5 separate regions of the Homo sapiens genome follow, and all the other regions are linked to region 1. Evidence: promoter capture Hi-C in human tissues and cell types (Jung and others, 2019). All regions are on one chromosome and are shown on one strand. Each heading gives the region's core, a stretch centred on a gene start or on the middle of the fragment in contact. The rest is flanking DNA. Distances are from core to core; before and after follow the strand shown. Region 1 holds the start of MAF (MAF bZIP transcription factor). Region 2 overlaps VAT1L (vesicle amine transport 1 like). Region 3 overlaps WWOX (WW domain containing oxidoreductase). Region 4 overlaps WWOX (WW domain containing oxidoreductase). Region 5 overlaps WWOX (WW domain containing oxidoreductase).

Region 1 (3,859 bases), core at 832-3,331:
AAACTCGGTGGGGGTGGGGGTGGTGAGGTGGTGGCGAGCATGGCTCTAGAACTAGCAAGCCCACACCCGAGCCGGACCCCCGCGGAGCACTTATCAGGGTGGCTAGCTGGAATCGCGTGTCAGACTCACATGAAAAACTCGGGAGAGGACGGGTTGTCGCTGCTCGAGCCGTTTTCTCGGAAGCCGCTGCTCACCAACTTCTCGTATTTCTCCTTGTACGCGTCCCTCTCGCGCACCAGCCTGGAGATCTCCTGCTTGAGGTGGTCGACTTGCTGCAGCAGCTGGTTCTTCTCCGACTCCAGGACGTGTCTCTGCTGCACCCTCTTGAAGCGGCAGGACTGGGCATAGCCGCGGTTTTTCAGGGTCCGCCTCTTCTGCTTCAGCCGGATCACCTCCTCCTTGCTGACCCCGCGCAGCTGCCGGTTCAGCTCGCGCACAGACATGGTCACCAGCTGCTCGTCGGAGAAGCGGTCGTCGAAGTGCAGGCCGCCGGCGGCGTGGTGCGGGTGCAGGGCGCCCCCCGCCCCCGCCGCGCCCCCGCCGCCTCCGCCGCCGCCGCCGCCGCCGCCGCCCCCAGCGCTGGCCGGGCCACCGCCGCCCGCGCCCCCAGCGCCACCGGCCGAGGCGGCCGCGCTGCCCGCGGCGCCGGGCGCGCCGGCCGTCGGGTGGTGGTGGTGGCCGGCGGCGTGGTGGTGGTGGTGGTGGTAGTGCGGGCCCGCGCCGCTCTGCGCGGCGGCCGCGGCGATCACGGCGGACACCACGGCGGCGGCGGGGCCCATCTCCTCGCCGCTGCCGCCCAAGGAGGCGCCGGCACCGGCCCCGGCCGCCGCGGCCAGCTGCTGCGCCCCGCGCGCGTAGCCATCGAAGCCGCCCTGGAGCTGGTGGCTGTTGCTGATGAGCGCCTCGACCGCGTCCTCGGGGCTGAAGCCCAGCGCCTCGGGGTTCAGCTGCTGCGGGTAGCCGGTCATCCAGTAGTAGTCTTCCAGGTGCGCCTTCTGCTCGCTGCCCGAGCCCGGGCTGGGCGCCGAGAAGCTGGGGGAAGGGGGCACCGAGCTGCACGGCGTGCTCATGGGGGTGGAGGACAGCGAGCCCCCGGCGATGAGACGGCCGCACTGGCTGATGATGCGGTCGGTCTCCACCGGTTCCTTTTTCACTTCAAACTTCATCAGATCGAAGTCATTAACATATTCCATGGCCAGGGGACTGGTGGGCAGGTCGGAGTTGCTCATTGCCAGTTCTGATGCCATTCTCCTGCCGCCGCCGCCGCCGCCGCCGCCGCTCCGCCAGATGGGCTGCAGGAGAGGGGCCAGCGGGCTGTGCTGGGTGGCCAGCGGGTGAGCCAGCTTGCCGGGCTGGGGCGCTTCTAGCTTGCGCGGCGGTGGCTGGCCCGAAACCTCCGAGCGCGCTCACACACACACCCCCCCGCCCTGCCCGCGCCCCCCGCGCCCGCCCTCCCTCCCCCCTGCTCACGCCAATGTGCTCCCTCGCTCGCCCCGGCCCCTCCTTGCTCGCTCGCCTCCTTGCGCGCCGAGCCGGCGGCTTCAGGCTCGGGAAGATCCTCCGCGAGCTGCGGTGGCGGCGGTGGTGGCTGCGGCGGCGAAGCTGGAGGAGCCCGGCCCGGTGCGCGGCGTCCCCCGCTCGCCGCTCCGCTGCGCGCTTTGCATAAGGAAGGGCTCGCCTCGCCGGCCCGGGCTGCAGGCAGGGCGCGCGCGGCGTCCGCTCGGGGCTGGAGGCGCGGCGGGCGTCTGTCCGGGCGGCGCGGGCCTTGGCACGGGGGAGTTAACACTTCATGCTTCTCGCCTCCTCTTCTGCTTGGCTCTCTTTATTATTTTTTTTCTTTCCTCTCTCTCCCTCGCGCGCTCTCTACCTCTGTGCAAAGTGCAAGGCAGAGGTGCAGCCCGACTGGAGGAGAGGGAGGGGGGAGTTTAGTTCTTTCTTGCCTTTTTTTAAAAAAGCAAAATAGCGAAGTCCTGGGGAAAGACGAGGCAGAGAGCAAAGGGGGGAGGGGGAGGCCAAGCCGACAAGCAGCCCGAGCTACAGCTAGAAGATGAAAAAAGATTTTAAAGCCTCTGATCCAGCAAGAAGAGTTTAAAGCAATTGCTGAGTTTTATAGCACTCGTGACGTCAGGTCCAAATGAGAAATTGACTGGCACTCCGGGCCAATGGGAGGCGGCGAGAGCGGCCGCGATTAGCATAATAGTATAGAAACAAGGAAACTTTTCGGAGCTGTCAATCAGGGCCCAATCAGCTGACTGTCAGCTGGGACGGGCTGGCTTAACCCTTCCTGCGCCGCTGCCTACCCGGGAGGGAACGAGGCCCGGCGCAAAGTTTGGTGTAAGAGGGGAAGGAGTTTTTCCAGAGGGGCTTCGGCAATCCGGGCGGACCTGGGAGGGCGGTTTGCTTTTCTTTGGAGCGCGAGACAGGCCTCCCATCCGGAGCCCCAGCTCGCTGGGGGCTCACTCGGCTGGGATTGGCCTGATTCCCCTCCCCTGCCTGCCCTCCACCCCCAGGATTGTGAATTCGCCTCCCAGCTTTTCCTCCTCGCACCAACTCTGGTACCCAGGTGTCTGCCGGGGACCTTCCTTCCCTGAGCCTGGCCGTGCCCGGCGCTCAAACTTGGCCCCAACTCTTTGTCCGTCTCTCGGGCGCCCGTGCGGGGAAGGGACCGGGAAGGGAGGGATGCAGTGGGGTGTCCGGATCGGGGCTGCGGGCTGGGCGCCGCCCGGCCATGCGCCTGCCCAGAAGGCTGGGCATCCGTGGAGAGGGAAAGCCCATTTTATCCCTCTCTTTACAACGAGGTAAAATAAGTTGTTTAGAGGCCATTCTTCACGGAGACCGGCTGCCCGCTGGCGTCGCGTGCCCTTGGACAGAGCGAGCGCCTATGCGAGATAACTCCGGGGAAGCTCAAAGTCAGGTCAGCCGGGCTCAGCCTTCCGGCTCCTGACTGGCCGGAGTTTGGCCTTTGAGACTCATATTGCGCGCTCGCTCTCTCTCTCTCTTACACACACACACACAAACACACACACACTCACACTCACCCGTCCCCTTACGAAATCTGACCTCTGTTTATCAGGGTCAGGCGCGCCCTTTGCACTTTTACGTTTCCTTTAATTATTTCGGACTTGATCGTGGCAGGGAGCAAGGGGGAAAAACAATACCCCAGCCCTCACCAGCTACCCTCGAAGGGTTAAATTTTAAACCGCGGTTTCTGGAACTAGTCCGGAAACGCAGAGTGGGGGGTGGGGTGGGGGAGGCTGCTCCCCCCACCCCCAGTTGCAAATGCTAATAAGTAGTTCAAATTTCTAGATTGATTCTCTAAAAGTTTATGCAAAAAAGAAATAAAAAAGAAAAAGAAAAAAGAAGGAAACCAACAACTAACTCTGTTTCTAAGATTTTAAAGCGATAGGCAAGTCGAAGAAGCAGAGATTTATTTGGAGAGAAAGCTCCTGAAACCGACCCAGCCTTTGGAAGACCAGCCCGTCTGCTTAGAAGTTGGGACTGTTGATTCCTTCAATTAATGAAATGCATTTGGTGTTTTTAATCGTATTTATTTTACTTTATGAGAAGGGGGAGACGCTAGGAGGGTGCATTAAAAAAAAAAAAAAATTCTGAAAAGCCTGCAAAAGGATCGAAGAGTGGAAACTATTGTTGGAGCGAGTTGGTTTTTACCTCAACAGCGCCACCTTTCGGCAAAGGTCAGTTGAAATTGATCCGTGTCCAGTTTTGTCGATGAAGTGAAAAGCAGCTGGTTACCCAGTGTGGGAGGAGGAAAGAGACACACAAAGTTAGTTTGACTGAAGTGGGAGAACCCGACCCTATAGGAAAGGGGCCGAAGAAAGTGCTGGCAGATGCAGAGATC
Region 2 (3,859 bases), core at 456-2,955, 1.7 Mb before region 1:
CAGTAGAACTTTGTTACAGCAGCACTAGGAAACTGACTTAGGGAGTAACTCATTCAGAGATGGCCACGAGTTAGGTTTTGGATCAGTTGAGTGTGATGTGTCGCTTTTGGGACAGCCAGGTGGAGACAAATGCCAAAACGATAGAGACCCAAGTCCAGGACTCAGTGGGCAGCTTGGGACCGGAGATTAACACATGCCAATCATTTTGGACACTCTGGCATTCATAGCACAGTGCAACCAGTACAGAATAGAAATTTGAAAAATAGTTGAATGAATAAATGAATATCCTATTTGCCTAAGGACAGAGGGCGAAGGGAATACAGGGAGACTGGAACTAATTGTAATTTCCCATCCCAGTAGTAAGAAGGTTATCTCAAGCGCTGTCCATAAGGAGCTATAACTATGACATATCTGAGGCCAGCAAATTTTAGAGAATTGCTGCATTGGTTGCTGATATTTACCCTCCCTAGAAAAGATAGTCCTCTCTTTGCTTTATAAAATCTAGAAGGCAGGAGAATTAAACAAGTATCAATGCTATTCTTAGGACAGAAAACTATAGCCTGTCCAGAGTCTCAGGTTCATGCCCATATTCTGAAATGTTGACCTCCAAGGGAGTGTGCCAGCAACATGTCTATTTTAGGTAGGAAGTTTAAAGCCTGCTTTGCTTAAAATGTCAAAATAAGTAGACAGCATAACAATGGAAAGTGGTAATAAGTGGAAACCAGGAGACCTTACTTTGAATCCCAGATTTGCCTCTGAAAAAGTGGGTAACCTTAACCTTTCTGAATGTCTTTTCCTTTATCTATAGAGCAGTCAGGGGAGGGGGTAATTGGATGATCTTCCAACTCTGACATTCTGTGATTCTCTCAGTGTTGCCTTTAATTGCAACGGGTGATAAGATGACATTTCCATAAATTGACCTGCCAACCTGATTTAGTCCGCCAGCATGAAGACATGAAAATAAGATGATAGGCAGAAATTAACATCACAGATGACGCTGGTAGAATATTTTCCCTCCTTAAAATGGCAGATGGAACACCAGAAAGAGACAACACTTGGCTTTAGAATGCACCTTAGTTACCAGAAAACTGGGTTTTACTGGAAAATGCCTGAATATACATGACCACAACATTTTGTCCAATGACTTCAAGTTTGACCATACTGAAAAACGATATGGAAAAATAAACCTGCTCCTAACTGCATTTGTGATTTCCCCTGGACCACTTAATATTTAAAACTTGTGTTGACCTCTTCTCTATATGCCTGGACATCTCGGCAATGGATATAATAAGCCCCTAAGGGGGAAAGGTAATTAGGATTTATTATCTAAGTGTCACATTTTGTGCCAGGTCTTTGACCTGTGTTGCAAAATACCTTATTTACACTTCCCTGTAGAAGATGCTGTCAGCCACATCCTATCTTTTCTGCACTTAACATGCCGAAGGTTGCTTAGGACTTCTGTCTGCTGTGGGAGCCCACTTGACTGGAAGAAGCCAGATAGGCACAAGAATTACTATTGCAGAAGCAGCCCTCAACAAGTATCAGATGCAAATGTGCTGGATAAATACTCCGGCTTCCTTGCTCATGGTTGGGATAACTCAGAGGCGTATTCTACACTTGCTCACAGGGTTCCCCAGAGGGATTGAGCTCCAGTTACACATGGTAGATATGGCCTTGATAACACATCTTTTATTGGCTGCCTTCTTTTACTGTCTTAATACCTTGTTATTTCCGGAGATCATTGTCCAGGTAAAATACCTACATCCAAATCGTTATCTTAGGTTCGGCTTCTGGGGTACCCAAACTAAGACATCTGCAAGAGCGCTGTGAAGTAGGTGGCATTGTAAGATATCAGTTTTTAAGTCTTGGTGCTTGGATTCGCCTGATTCCCATTGACTTTCCTCTATGCCAGTGATTCTTAACCACAGGACATTTTGTCCTTCCACCAAGGCGACACTTTGCAATGTCTGGATACATTTGTGGTTGTCACAACTGGGAGGATGCTACTGGCATGTAGTAGGTAGAGGCCTGGAGGGCTAAACATCTGACAATGCATAGTACAGTCTCCTACCACAAAGACTAATCCAACCTTAAAAAGGCCCCCCGGGCACAGTGGCTTGCGCCTGTAATCCTAGCACTTTAGGAGGCTGAGGCGGGTGGATTACCTGAGCTCAGGAGTTCGAGACCAGCCTGGGCAACACGGTGAAACCCCATCTCTACGAAAAATACAAAAAATTAACCGGGCATGGCAGCATGTGCCTGTAGTCCCAGCTACTTGGGAGGCTGAGGCAGGAGAATCGCTAGAACACAGGAGGTAGAGGTTGCAGTGAGCCGAGATCGCACCACTGCACATTGCACTCCAGCCTGAGTGACAGAGTGAGACTCCATCTCTAAAAAAAAAAAAAAAAAAAAAAAAGTCAATAGTGCCGATGGAGAAATCCTGCTCTACACCCAGCAAGACTGGCTATGATCTGGTGGCTCCTATGTGTGACATAGCTATTGTCTTTTCCTTCCAGGGTCAAGCTGTGGCTCAGCTGTGTTCCACTGTCCCCAACGTGACTGTCTTTGGAACAGCCTCTACTTTCAAGCATGAAGCAATCAAAGACTCTGTGACCCACCTCTTTGACAGAAATGCAGACTACGTGCAAGAAGTTAAAAGGTAAGATGTTTGCTTTTGAAAAAGCACCAGGCTGGCCCTTGCTCTGCTCTCAAAGAGCAGTAGCACTTATTTAAAAGAGGGATAATAATAATATGTAGCAAACATATATTGGGGGCTTAGTATTATTAGCTCTGTGCCAAATATTTCACACGCATTAGTTCATTTAATCCTCTTAACCTCACTATTATCACCAAGGAACGAATCGGCTAACTTGGAAAGTTAATGTATTAAAGTTACGCTAGCTCCTATTTGACCATCTTAACACATGGAAGTTTATTTCTCATTCATTCACATGATAGCTTAAGGTGGATATTTGGTGGATGATCTTCTGTAAGAGCATTCAGAGACCCAGGCTCTTTTCATCTTATGGTTCCACTATTGTCTTGGGTCTAAAGGTCCTTTGCTTCTAGCCAACAGATGGGCAGACAGCACCAAAGGGTCATGAATAGGAGGTTTTATGGGCCAGTCCCAGAAAGAACACACACCCTTCTCATAGTCTAGCACTACTGCTCAGGTCGTTGGCTACGCCTTACTGAAAGCAAACTGAGAAACCTTGTCATTGGGTGCACCCAGAAAGGCCTGGCACTGGCAGTAAAGGGTGGAGCCTGGAGTCAAGCCAGGCATTTCAACTTCGGAGCCCGTGATTTTCCTGTATAGATAGCACCTCTCTGAACAGTGAAGCATGAGCCAGAATTATCCATAGGAAGAAAGGGGCAGGGAGGGGGCTGCTCTGGGAAAGGAAAGTCGTGTGCATGCATACTGAGGAATGCAAGAGCCTCAGAGGCTGGGAGAACTACAAGAAGGCTTACTGGGGTGCAAGTCCAGGGATGTCTTGTTATCTCATCTAATTATAGGTGTTGGCAAAGGGACACCTGGGGGGAAAGGGAAGAAGGGGCATGAGGTGAGGCTGAGCAAGGAGACAGGTATCAGATGCACATAAAGACCATGTACACCAATCCAGCAAATGTGGACTCCAACCTGGGTGTGACCAAGAGCCACTGACAGACTAAAATGGGGCTATGATTGATTTGAGTTTTGAACAATCACTGGTGGTGCAGAGGGGATGGATGGGTAGAGGGAGGCTGGGGCTGCAAGATCATTTGCTGGCTGTTGCAGTCACCTGGGGGAATGATGGTTTATAACCTGTGATTCTGAAGTTATTGATCATGGCCACATGTTTGTCAGCACAGGGAAGCAGAT
Region 3 (3,859 bases), core at 902-3,401, 1.2 Mb before region 1:
AGCAGATGCCCAACCTCCATGCCTAACTCCTTTGCCTACCCCACCAGTGTGCAGCAGCCTCTGCCGCACCCTACTGCAGTCTCTCCTATTTCCCTGGCAGGAGAGCTCAGAGACTACTTGTGAACAGGCCTCAATGCCTATAGCAAGGCAAGGCTTGGGAGAAACAAATGTCCTCTGGGAGCAGCCTTGGGTAAAAGATTAACTGCGCACTGAGCTTTAGATCCCTGAGTGAGAAAGCTGTGGGAAAATGAGTGTGTAGCTCATGAGAGGGTTTGGAGAAAAGTGGTGACATCGCAAAAATCCCAGGTTTTGTTGAAGTTGTCTGTGGAGGGGCACTCATAGAAAGGGCACTGGACGTGAGCATTTCCCTTGTAGTTGAGATGGGATTTGACATGACTTCCTGGTGGTGGCAAGACAAGAAAGTGGCAACCTGGGACAGTGGACCTCACAGCTCTCCTGCTAATGGTGCTGATGGCTAAGCTCAGCTCTTACCCTTGACCACTGGAACAACTTAGACATGTCACCAGCTTTCTGAGCCTGTCTCATTACGATGAAAATTGTGATACAGGTTAGTGTAAGGACCGACAATAATGCATATAACATCAATAATGATGGATATAGAATTTCTGCAGTTATTATAATCTGGCTCTCCAGTATGGTAGTCGTGGGCCACATGTGGCTATTGAGTTCTAAAAATGTGGCTAATAGAACTGAGGAAGTGAATTTTCAATTTGATTCCATGTTTGTTAATTCGAACTGAAAAACACCACGTGTGCCAAGTGGCTGCCATACTGGAGAGCGTGGTCAAATGACATGCCTAGCTCAGTGCCTTTCGCATGGGAGGTATGCAGTACTTCCTGCCACGATGGCTGTTACTCTTGTCGTTGTGAGCAGTGCCTTGGTCCCGATGATGATTCTCCAAAATGTAATCTCTGCTGACAGAACAAGAGTCTGCAAATTGGGAGTCTGGAAAGGGAAGAGAAGGGCTTTGTCCCTGGCCCCAAAGACTCAGGGAGAGGTTTACTGGCCAGGTAGAAAGGGCGTCCAGGTGAAGGGACCCTGGTTCAGTGATCTCCAACCTGCACGTCTCATTTGTGAGGAAGCCGTAGGGTGTGGACTTTTCTTGTTTCTGACCTTGAGTGATTAGAAAATAGCAGCTTTTATATGTCACAAATGGACTTTAGATAAGCATGAAGATGACGAAGACTGTGGAATATGTAGCTAAGAGTCTTACTAAAATCCTCTCTAGTGTATTTATATATTTAAGCGTTTGGTAGTACTTTTTTAGCCATCAGCGTTCTCTATATTAGGTTGATACAGAAGTTATTGAGGTTTTTGCCATTGAAAGTAATACGTCACTTCATGCAGAGGTGGAATTGGCGCTCTGAGCTTGCTTGTCAAATTCACAGGCATTCACTTTTCTTTCATAAACATTTAGGACTCTGTATTTAGGAGAGGAATCACTGTGAATGTAGACCTCGGGTTGGTCATTTTCCTAGTAAGATAGACCAGACTGACTGGAAAAGTCACCCTCTTGGGCTATCCTGCGTATGTGGCTCGGCATTGCTTCCGTCAGGATAATGCATCAGTTTCTTGGACAAAGGGTGCATTTCTGCTATTTGAATGCAGACATATTTTTGGATATAAGCCACGCAGTTGCATCCCATTTCTTCCGTAGGTAAAGGCTGGGTTTCTAATTGTGATTGAGAAGCTTAGCATAGATGCAATGTCCCTATCACCAGATGGCTAGTGTGCTCTGCCTTGTCTGCCTTTTACCTTAGAGAGGGTGCTTCCTTCTGACACGGGTATTGCTGGAGTACACATTCTGTTGCATGAGGTCAGGGGAGCAAGAAATACAACCCAGACTTGCGCTCGGAAGCCCTGCCTTCATTTCTTCTCTGTAGCTGGCTCCCTTAAGTATTAAACAGCAGTATTCTAATATCAACGTCCCTTTTTTATTTGCTGTGACTTGCTGTGACTACGGTGATTTTAGTTACAGTAATTAGGTCACTCTTCATGGAGTCGGGCTATTTTAAGTGCCTCTTTAAGGAATATTGTTGCAGATCAGTAATTTTACAATTGGATGTTCTTGTGCAACTTTATTAAATGTGATCTGTCTTTTAAATGTTGCCCTTTTACAGTTACACATTTCTAATTGTTGCTGTAAATGCATTATCACTTTGAAATTAATTAATTTTTCCATTTTGGCTGCCTGCAATATAATAATCACTAATGAGAAACTCACAGGAATCAATTCTCAGCACAGCGGCCCCTACTGGTAAAGCCATGTCTCTGCCTCCCTCTTCTTCTTCAGATCCAGAGAACTGGACAAGTGTATTGGGGCGTCCTGGGAGGGAAGTGTTTGTTTCTTCCTCCCTTCAATTTATGGTGAAATAAAAATCACAGATAAACTTGGAAAGTGAGTTATTTTTAAGTGTCGTTCTAAAAAAGATGCAATATACTTCAAATAGCTGCTTCTAAAATATGTTAAAGGAAACTAACATTTGCTGAGTACTTTCTAATAATGAAGTCACATCATACGTGCATTACATGTTTATTTTCTTGACTCTAGAGCATTCTTTTATGCAGTTAAATTACTCTAAAATGTTTTGCACCTGCACGCATTAATGTGTATTGTTTGGTAAGAACTTTCGAGTTGGTGAAAAAATGTATTGTATTTTAGTATCTATATTTATATATACATATTAGTCTATGGGTTTTAATTCACAAAACCAGGTGTTGTATCTGGTGCACATAAGGGATTTTCAAGGCTAATCTTGGGTTTTTGCAGTTGTAACCATGTGTGATGACTTTAGAATCCTACCACACTTCCAAATAGAGATGCAGATTGACCATTTTCCCAGATACCACGATGCTTTATGTATCAGCATATATTTTCATTAATTTCTCATAATTTCTGTTAGAATTAATAATTCCAAGTTCTACAATCTTAGAATTATTATCTTTATTTTGTAATTGAAAAGCACAGAAACCTCATGCAGCGTGTTCAAGAAAATGATATACCAGCCTTGTAAACTTTCACTTGCTAATTGCAGCTGCATTTGCTTTGTCCAATGCACGGTAATGCCCCTGGCATCCATATCTAGTTATGCAGTTATGCTTCCTTTTTAAAATGTTTGACAGCACCTTCACTGAAATGAATGCTGCCACCACCGCCAACCCCACCTTTTTTTTTTCCACATAAGCTTTCATTTCTGGTAAATACATCCTTGCCAGAGTTCCCAGGTCCAAGCCGGTCCTTTGTGGACCAGTATGCAGATTTGAAGTTGAGCACTGTCACTTGCCTCTTAGGAGTGTTTTGTGCAACCACATATTTGTGTTGGCAGATAACAGTAGAAAGAATATCATGTGTTAGGGTAGCAAGAGCTTAGCAGATGTTTTAGGGAACTGCATTTTCAAATCATTTTACATTAAAAAATGGCTTACGTTTATGGAACTTCTGCGACGATCGGGTTACGTTTCCTGTGCCCGTGTAAAGCCAGTCATCGTGCTGAGTTTTAACGGATGTGCAGCTACCCTGCTAATGGATGGGCCGGCAATGCTGGTCCTGTTGCAAAGTTATAAATTATAACTAGAAAAAGCACAAGATGTCATTCTTCTAACCTTCGTGAAAGCCAAACGGGGTAATTCTGCCCTTGAATAACCCGCTGCAGGGTGATTTATAGTTGTACAATTTAAAACGTAATGAAGGAGATAATAGATGTTGATTTGTTCCTGAAATTAGTATTTTAGAAAAATACTTCTCCCCCTTTCCATCTTTAAATACCTGCAGCTGACTACACTATAGATACTATCAAGGGCAAAGCCCCCTGTTTGAATGTGTATTGGTACATTGGTG
Region 4 (3,859 bases), core at 884-3,383, 1.1 Mb before region 1:
TTCAATGTTTTGGATGACTTTGGAAGCCTTGATTTCTGTAGGCTGTAGCAGGACAAATTCTGATGGACAGATCAAGATGTTCTATGTTGCTCTAAAACAGCATCTCTCAAACTTTTTTGGACCACTATCTAAGTTTTTTCTGTTAAAACCCAATACATTTATACTTATGTATATTCGTGTGTGTGTGTGTGTGTGTGTGTATTATATGCATGTGTGTGTATTTGTCTGAAATAAAAGTTTTACAAAATGATACTTTTATCTGAGCAGTGTCCTGCTGTTTTTTTTCCCCTAGGTTGTGTTTTTGTGTTTTTGTTTGTTTGTTTGTTTCTTTGTTTGTTTTTGAGACAGAATTTCACTTTTGTTGCCCAGGCTGCAGTGCAATGGCACGATCTCTGCTGACCCCAAGCTCCGCTTCCCAGGATCAAGCGATTCTCCTGCCTCAGCCTCTTGAGTAGCTGGGATTACAGGCATGCGCCACCATACCTGGGGAATTTTTTTTTGTATTTTTAGCAAGGTTGTTGATCAGGCTGGTCTCGAACTCTCAACGTCAGGTGATCCATCCTCCTCAGCCTCCCAAAGTGCTGGGATTGCAGGCTTGAGCCACCGTGCCCACCTGTGTTTTTTGTTTTGTTTTTGTGTATGTGCCAATGATGACCCAGTTTCAATACCAACTGTTGCTTTCACCACCCACTATTGGTTTCACCACCCCGCTAGATCACAGTCTGTTCTTTGGCAGTCACTGCCCCAATACTGTTTGATGTGCTCCCCTCTGATAAATGTTCATTGAGTGCCCCACATGTCAGGTACTGACTTAAGGCATAGCAAATGCAAAAATGAGCAAGGTGTTCTCTTGGCTCTATGGGTGCCTACCTTAGAAGGATGGAGATGGGAAGAATGTGAAAGGGAGGTGAGATGAGCAGCACTGGGATGTGTGGCTTTTCTGTCTTGAGGATAGATAGAAGAGGAGTCAGATAAAGTTGCAGAACAGAGATGACGTCTTTACTGAGACTTGAATGATGTGTCGGAGGCAAACATGTTGACACAAACGAGAGAATTTTAGGTTCTCTTTGTAGCTGTGGCTGGGCTGGGACAAGGACGATGGACAAAGTTATGGGGGTGCTAAAAACCTCAGTAATGAAGATAAATGATATTCTAATCTAATATTTTAAAAAATCGAGGCTAGGTGTGGTGGCTCATGCCTGTGATTCCAGCATTTTGGGAGGCCAAGGTGGACGGATCACCAGAGTTCAGGAGTTTGAGACCAGCCTGGCCAAAATGGTGAAATGCCATCTCTACTAAAAACACAAAAATTAGCTGGGTGTGTGGTAGTGTGTGCCTGTAGTCCCAGCTACTCTGGATGCTGAGGCACGAGAATTGCTTGAACCTGGGAGTAGGAGGCTGCAGTAAGCTGAGATCATGCCACTGCACTCCAGCCTGGGTTAACAGAGCAAGACTCTGTCTCAAAAAAAAAAAAAAAAAAAAAAAAAAATCAAAATTGATGCAAAAAATATGATAACATTTCAAAATTTAAATCAAGACAAATTCAATATTATAGCAAAGGTTCAAGTAATGAACATGAATTTGTAATGATGCCTGGGGGAGGTGAAGGTTAAAAAAAAAAAAAAGGCCACCAAGGACCTCATGTTAAAGTTGATGATGACGGAAGTGAGCAGTGATGATGAGATTTAAAAAACTAACTTTTATTTTTACATTATTTTAACTAGTATTTGTGTTAACATTATTTTAATCTCCTGTGCACTTAAGGGAGCTGGCATAGGCCGGCAGTGGCTATAGGCCAGGACCTGTGCTATGTAGCTTATCTATTTCTCATGCTGATTCTACTTTTGTTACTACCGAAGGAGCTTAGAGGGAATCAGTGACGTGGACAAGGCTATGTAACTAAAGGGGGTGGAGGAGGATTCAAGCCCCTTGCAACGGACTGAAGTGCCCAAGCTCTAAATCCCTGCCACCCACAGCCTCTGTTGGCCCCAGGTTGTGTCTGAGATTCAGAGGTTGTTTTTATAGCAGCAACACAGTAAGTTGGGAAGAGGGACACATTTTTAACATAGACACCAAAAGAGAGGCTGGAAGAGTTGACCACTTAGAAATGTCACGAGTGTCTGTGAATAGTGTTGGGGGCTGAGAGGCAAGAGAAGAAAATAGTCCTAATGTTGTACAAGTAGCAATGGAAACAAACTTGTTAAAAAAAATTTAATTTTGTTTATGCATGTGTGCATAAACAAAGCAATAGAAAATATTTGATATTTAAGATTGAGCACTTAACAAAATACTTTGTCTCTTTTTGGTTTGCTGTCTTAAGCAATAGCCTTAAATTCTTGTCCCAGGGATACCTGATAGAGCTAATATAGAACAATATTTTAACATAATTTGAAGTATTTTTTTCTTCTGATGGGTATGTAGTTCATTTTTATAAAAAAATTTAAAAATTCTGAATCTGTGGTGTTTCTGAAACATCCTGATATATTTTTTGTTGATGACTCTTAACAAAGGATGTAAGACAGATTCTAAGAAGAGAAAAGGTAGAATATCCACATGTCTCAGTTTCATAATATGTGTAAAAATTATCATGCCCATTCATTATTTAAAGTGCTGTGGCTTTTTAGTGAATACCAACATTAACAAACCATGTTAACATGATTTAAAATATGTAATGAAATTTGCAATGCATCAGATGATGGAACTATCAAATTAGTTCACGTGGCGTTGGCTGATCACCCTTATGAAGAGTTACTTGCATTGTTTGAAGAGGGAAGATGCACATCCCCTTGTGGGCTGGCAGCATTTTTGCTAACACTGCCTTAAATGATGCTACTGGCAGGATGGTTAATTTGATGTTGAAATGTCACACAATATGTGCCCACCCTACGATTTGAATCTTCTGTGCCGTTAAGGGAATTGGCAGTGTTCAGACAGAATGGTAACATTCTCTCTGATCGTGTCTGTGTCTGCACCCTTTTTTGTTTTGTTTCTGTTGTCTTCATTAATAGACCTTTCAGGAACCTTCCTGGGATCTCAGATAACAGTTCTTCTGGAACAGGATTATCCAGAGGTAGCAAAAGCTCTCCTGCAAATATTCCATTGCACGACTTTAAATAAAGCAGCAAGAAGTCTTTTCATTCAGTTCAGATTTGCTACTTGTTCTCTTGGTTCCTTCAAAGTAATGACTAAGTACAGGTCTTTAGATAGAGAGCTGCACCAACCAGGTATTGCTTCGTGTCTTCCACGTACGTCCTGAGAAAGCGAAGGTGAATTTCACCAATTGGTAGGTGGAAATAGAAAAACTGTTGATTCTTTTTTTCATTCACCAATCTTTTTTTTCCCCAAATGCTAAGCTTTATTTGGGGAAATCTTAACAGCCGTTTTTATAAGACTCTGCATTTACAACATTTGTGGGGGCTGCAGAGGACGCACATGAAAATAACATGAACTGGCCATGTACGGTGGCTCATGCCTGTAATCCCAGCACTTTGGGAGGCCGAGGCAGGTGGATCACCTGAGGTCAGGAGTTCGAGACCAGCTTGGCCAACATGGTGAAACCTCATCTCTACTAAAAATACAAAAATTATAGCTGGGCGTGGTGGCGGGCGCCTGTAGTCCCAGCTACTTGGGAGGCTGAGGCAGGAGAATGGCCTGATCCCGGGAGGCGGAGCTTTCAGTGAGCCAAGATCGCCCTACTGCACTCCAGCCTGAGCGTGAGACTCTGACTCAAAAAAAAAAAAAAAAAAATTAGCTGGGCGTAGTGGCAGGTGCCTGTAATCACAGCTATCCAGAGGCTGAGGCACCAGAACTGCCTGAACCTGGGAGGCGGAGGTTGCAGTGAGCCAAGATGGTGCCACTG
Region 5 (3,859 bases), core at 425-2,924, 1.1 Mb before region 1:
GTATGTTGTGGTCTTTGTTACAATGTATGTTCACGAATTCCTAGAACACTGTTCCCGTTGGCCATGGGATCAGGGGAAGAGAGAAGGAAGAGAGAACCAGACACAAGTTGGAGGGAATCCATCTCCAGTGCTGCTCAGAGGTATGACCTAGAGCAAGGGGTTTAGGCTTTCTTGGACTCATTTTCCTCGGTGGTGAAGTGGGGATAATTTATTGACAGTGGACCGTGAGGTTCTGCGCACAAAATTCGTTGCATAGCACCTGATACACACAAAGCTTTCAGGCAAGGTTAGTTTCGGGTATTTCCAGCCTTAGTCTTGGCTGTGGGAGCCATAATGGAGTTGTTCAGAAGTTTACAGCTAGTGTTTATAAATTGCTTGCCATGGGGCCTTGTATACAGTAAGCATTCATTAAGTGTTCCCTCCTATTATATCCTTAGGTTTAAGATACAGGCACCACAACATAAACCACCCCCAGAGTACACATGCATGGGTGTAATTTGGTGCCATTCTCCTCCCTTTTGCCCCCACCAAAATGAAGTTTTTAGTGTAAATGTCATGTAGATTTTAACCAAAGGTTGATTGGAGGGTCTGAGTTTCTCAGCTAAATGAAGGCATGAGGACTGTATCCCTCCTGAAGGGTGTGATCAGTTCCATGAGAAAGAAGCTGCGAGCTGTGGGGCATCCAAGATAATGTAATCTGCCCCGGGGTCCTGTGAGGGACTGGCCGACAAGGCAGGCTGAATGCAGCCTTGCCCACTGAGCTGGGTTCTCTCTGCTTTAGGTCCTCTCTGGAGGTGAAGAGGGAAGTCCGCTGATTGTTTTTCTCTTGGTGCAACTTCGCACCACCCTTACATATCCCAGTGTATATGGTAGCCAAGGACAGTACTGTTTGAGCCTCCCCCATTAAGTGTCAACATTGAATCAATGCAATCCCATGCAAAGAAAGCTGAGCATGGGATTGTGCCGGTTTAGCCAGCTAAAGTGTGGTCTCTGATGCTGATCATGACTATGAAAAGGGAAAATGGAGGAGAATGATGACGAAGGAGGAGGAGGAGGAAAAGGTGACTTGCCTCTAGCTGATGTGGATTATTTCTCTTTTTTAATTTCCATGTCTGTGTAGCTTCATCATAGATCTCAGCTTAAGGACAATGAAAGTCGTTTATTGAGTACTTAGTATGTGCTGGTTGCAGAGCCAAGTCTTTTTTTTTTTTTTTTTTTTCCTCCTTTTTTGAGAGAGAGAGTCTCACTCTGTCACCCAGACTGGATTGCAGTGGCACAATCTCAACTGACTGCAACGTGCACCTCTCAGGTTCAAGCAATTATCAGGCCTCAACGTCCTGAGAAGCTGGGACTACAGGCATGTACCACCACACTCAGCTAATATTTGTATTTTTAGTAGAGGCGGGGTTTTGCCATGTTGTCCAGGCTGGTCTTGAACACCTGACCTCAGGTGATCTGCCTGCCTCAGCCTCCCAAAGTGCTGGGATTACAGGGGTGACCCACCACACCCAGCCAGAGTCAAGTATTTCAAGTATTAGAGTTGTCTGCCTGCCTCCCTGTCTCCCTGCCTTCCTTCCATCTGTTTGTTATCTGACTTAATCTTTGAAATAACCCAATGATACATGATATGCATTTTCTAGGTAGATAGATGAAGGGTTAGGAAGATGTAACTTGTCCTAAATCACGTGTCTTCTAAGCGGTGGAACTGATTTTCTCACTGACTATAGATGTTGAGCCCATTAATGTGATACCTACTGCCTTTTAATTTTAAAAGTTCTCATTGTTTTATCGTTTTCATCATTATCATATGATTTACCTCTTCTCTTGTGTCTTATAATCCGATTGGTCATGCTGACATACTAAACCATATTGTTTGCCACTGGGAACCAATTCATCTGTGAAAAGTCATACAGATAGGCTCGAAGAAAGAGCTTGGTTGTGATGTTGTTGTTGTGACAACTGTCTCGGGGGCTGGAGTTAGAGCCAGGGTCCCAGCTGCCACAGTTCATGTAGGGGTAGACCAGTGCTTCCTTTTGGGTGATGAGGAAGCTGGATTTGGCAGCTGGTTTTGTCTGGATTTGAAAGGGAGGTAATCAGGGGTGTGCTGGGAGGGCCAGAACGATCCACCCACGTGTTGGTGCCACCCGGCAGTGGAAAAGCCTCTGGCCTCGGCCTTCTCCGGAAGGTTGTCCGCGGTGCCAGTGAGAGCTGCTTTTCACCTTACAGCAGCCCCGGCCTATCTCTCAGGAGGCCTGCTGATAATCAGTAAATGAAATTCACCTTTCCCCGATTCTTGAAAACGGAAAAGATGAGGGTTGAATTATAGGGCAAATCATGAACACTGTCTTTTTTCCAGCATGGTATTTTGAGCGGCACAGAAGGGGGTAATTATTTTATTTGGAAGAACAAATTTAAGTTTGGCAGTTACCTGAAAGAAAATTTAGTGATTGCCAGTCCATTCTCTAGCCTTCTGAAGAAGATAGATTGTAATCTTTAATTAAGCTATCACTCACACCAAAAAAAAAAAAAAAAAAAAAAAAAAAAGCGGGGCAAGGGGTTGGAGAATGTTCATATCACATTATTTTGGATGTCTGGGGTTGCACCTGGAAGCTCAGATAGCAATATCTAGGCACGGCTGCCAGCGCTCTATACATTGACGTTTGTTTAATATTTTAATTTCCCCATGAGTCTTAAACCTCTGCGTGGTGTGCAAGTTGAGGCCTGGTGTATGCACTTCGGCCACGGGCTTTCCCACTGTAATGAAGATGGAATGACTCCATGGATGACCTTTCCGTGCCTTTGTCTGTAGCCTGCCCTCCTCTTTAACTGAACACCTTCCAGACGAGCATGCTCTGAACTCCTGAACTGCTCATTCTGTTCTCTGAGAGAATTGCTCAAGCTGCAGTTTATCATTATATGCCTCCAAAGACTTTGTGTTTCCTATGTTTGACATCGAGATAGAATTTTTCATAACCCTTTACTAGTAATAAATTTGATTGTTAAGGGACCAGGTTAATCTTATTTCTAATACCAGCATCTGATTTTAAAACCCTGATTTAGGAGCATTTTCTTTCTGCTACCTTCCTAAAACGCATGGGTGGAAATGTATAAAATATGTCACCTGATATTGGAGGATTGTTTATTTCTGTTCATTTGGTCCTGAATAGTACCTATGAGATGCATTTGAAAACTTACCTTGTTTATATGTTTCTTCTGTTGCAATTTCTTCCATTACCTGGAATAGCTGCTTTGGACGGCAAACCAAGCAATGCCCTTTCACAGCTGTGGGATGAATGGGGAAAGAAGTCTTGGTAAGGAAGCAATTCAGAGAACATGGAAGCATCTCATGGCAGCAGTCACAATTTTGTGTTGCGTAATATTTCAGGAACTTGCAACCCTGATAACTTGTGCCTGCCTGTCTGTAGGCCTTTAATGATGTTTTATTGAATTTTGGTTTTCCCCTAGACTTTGCAGTGCATGACACATAGTAATTGCTCAATAAATATGTGTTCAACTGAACTATGGTGGTTAGGTTAGTAATTAGATGCACAGACAAAATCACAGGAATCTGCGTGAGCCTTGTCCTACTGGTAAAGGAGTCTTGTGAGGATTAATTGAAATAACTCGCAAAAATATCCAGCTCTCTGTTTCCCTGCTAGGGGCTCTTGTCATAGGAGCCATTGTTGTAGCCTTAGAAAACATACAGCATTATTTTAGGGGGAGAGGTTAGAGTAGAATTTTAAAGAGTGCATTTCTCTTCCAGTAAGCAATTCTGCATCGATAAAAAGTGGAGAAAGAATAAGTGAAAAAATATTTAGTTAATTCTTGTTGACAGAAGTAGGACTTCAGGTCCACATAT

Evidence for each region. The method cuts DNA at HindIII sites, captures the fragments that hold promoters and counts their contacts. A contact is called where the count stands out against the background at its distance.
Region 2: a contact is called between a fragment that was not itself captured here and the fragment with the promoter of MAF in region 1, in 1 of the 25 tissues and cell types used here (aorta).
Region 3: a fragment that was not itself captured here is called in contact with the fragment with the promoter of MAF in region 1 in 1 of the 25 tissues and cell types used here (dorsolateral prefrontal cortex).
Region 4: a fragment that was not itself captured here is called in contact with the fragment with the promoter of MAF in region 1 in 1 of the 25 tissues and cell types used here (hippocampus).
Region 5: a contact is called between a fragment that was not itself captured here and the fragment with the promoter of MAF in region 1, in 2 of the 25 tissues and cell types used here (dorsolateral prefrontal cortex and mesendoderm cells).

What each region holds. Positions count from the first base shown.
Region 1 is chr16:79,598,656-79,602,514 of GRCh38, forward strand. It overlaps MAF (MAF bZIP transcription factor), which reads right to left and starts at 2,082. Exons shown (of 2, transcript NM_005360.5): 1 at 130-2,082. The coding sequence starts at 1,247. It overlaps LOC101928230 (a long non-coding RNA gene), which reads left to right and starts at 2,232. Exons shown (of 3, transcript NR_188556.1): 1 at 2,232-2,334; 2 at 3,392-3,695. RefSeq lists an enhancer at 1,997-2,291. The HindIII fragment of the contact is 24,643 bases long and covers 1-3,859 here.
Region 2 is chr16:77,860,232-77,864,090 of GRCh38, forward strand. VAT1L (vesicle amine transport 1 like) reads left to right here. Exons shown (of 9, transcript NM_020927.3): 4 at 2,517-2,659. Among named protein-coding and RNA genes, the nearest start is that of VAT1L, 74 kb to the left of the region's middle. The HindIII fragment of the contact is 6,734 bases long and covers 1-3,859 here.
Region 3 is chr16:78,435,273-78,439,131 of GRCh38, forward strand. All of the region lies in intron 8 of WWOX (WW domain containing oxidoreductase), which reads left to right. Among named protein-coding and RNA genes, the nearest start is that of WWOX-AS2, 63 kb to the right of the region's middle. The HindIII fragment of the contact is 3,131 bases long and covers 587-3,717 here.
Region 4 is chr16:78,454,182-78,458,040 of GRCh38, forward strand. The region is part of intron 8 of WWOX (WW domain containing oxidoreductase); the gene reads left to right. Among named protein-coding and RNA genes, the nearest start is that of WWOX-AS2, 44 kb to the right of the region's middle. The HindIII fragment of the contact is 4,031 bases long and covers 119-3,859 here.
Region 5 is chr16:78,535,703-78,539,561 of GRCh38, forward strand. All of the region lies in intron 8 of WWOX (WW domain containing oxidoreductase), which reads left to right. Among named protein-coding and RNA genes, the nearest start is that of WWOX-AS2, 38 kb to the left of the region's middle. The HindIII fragment of the contact is 5,244 bases long and covers 1-3,859 here.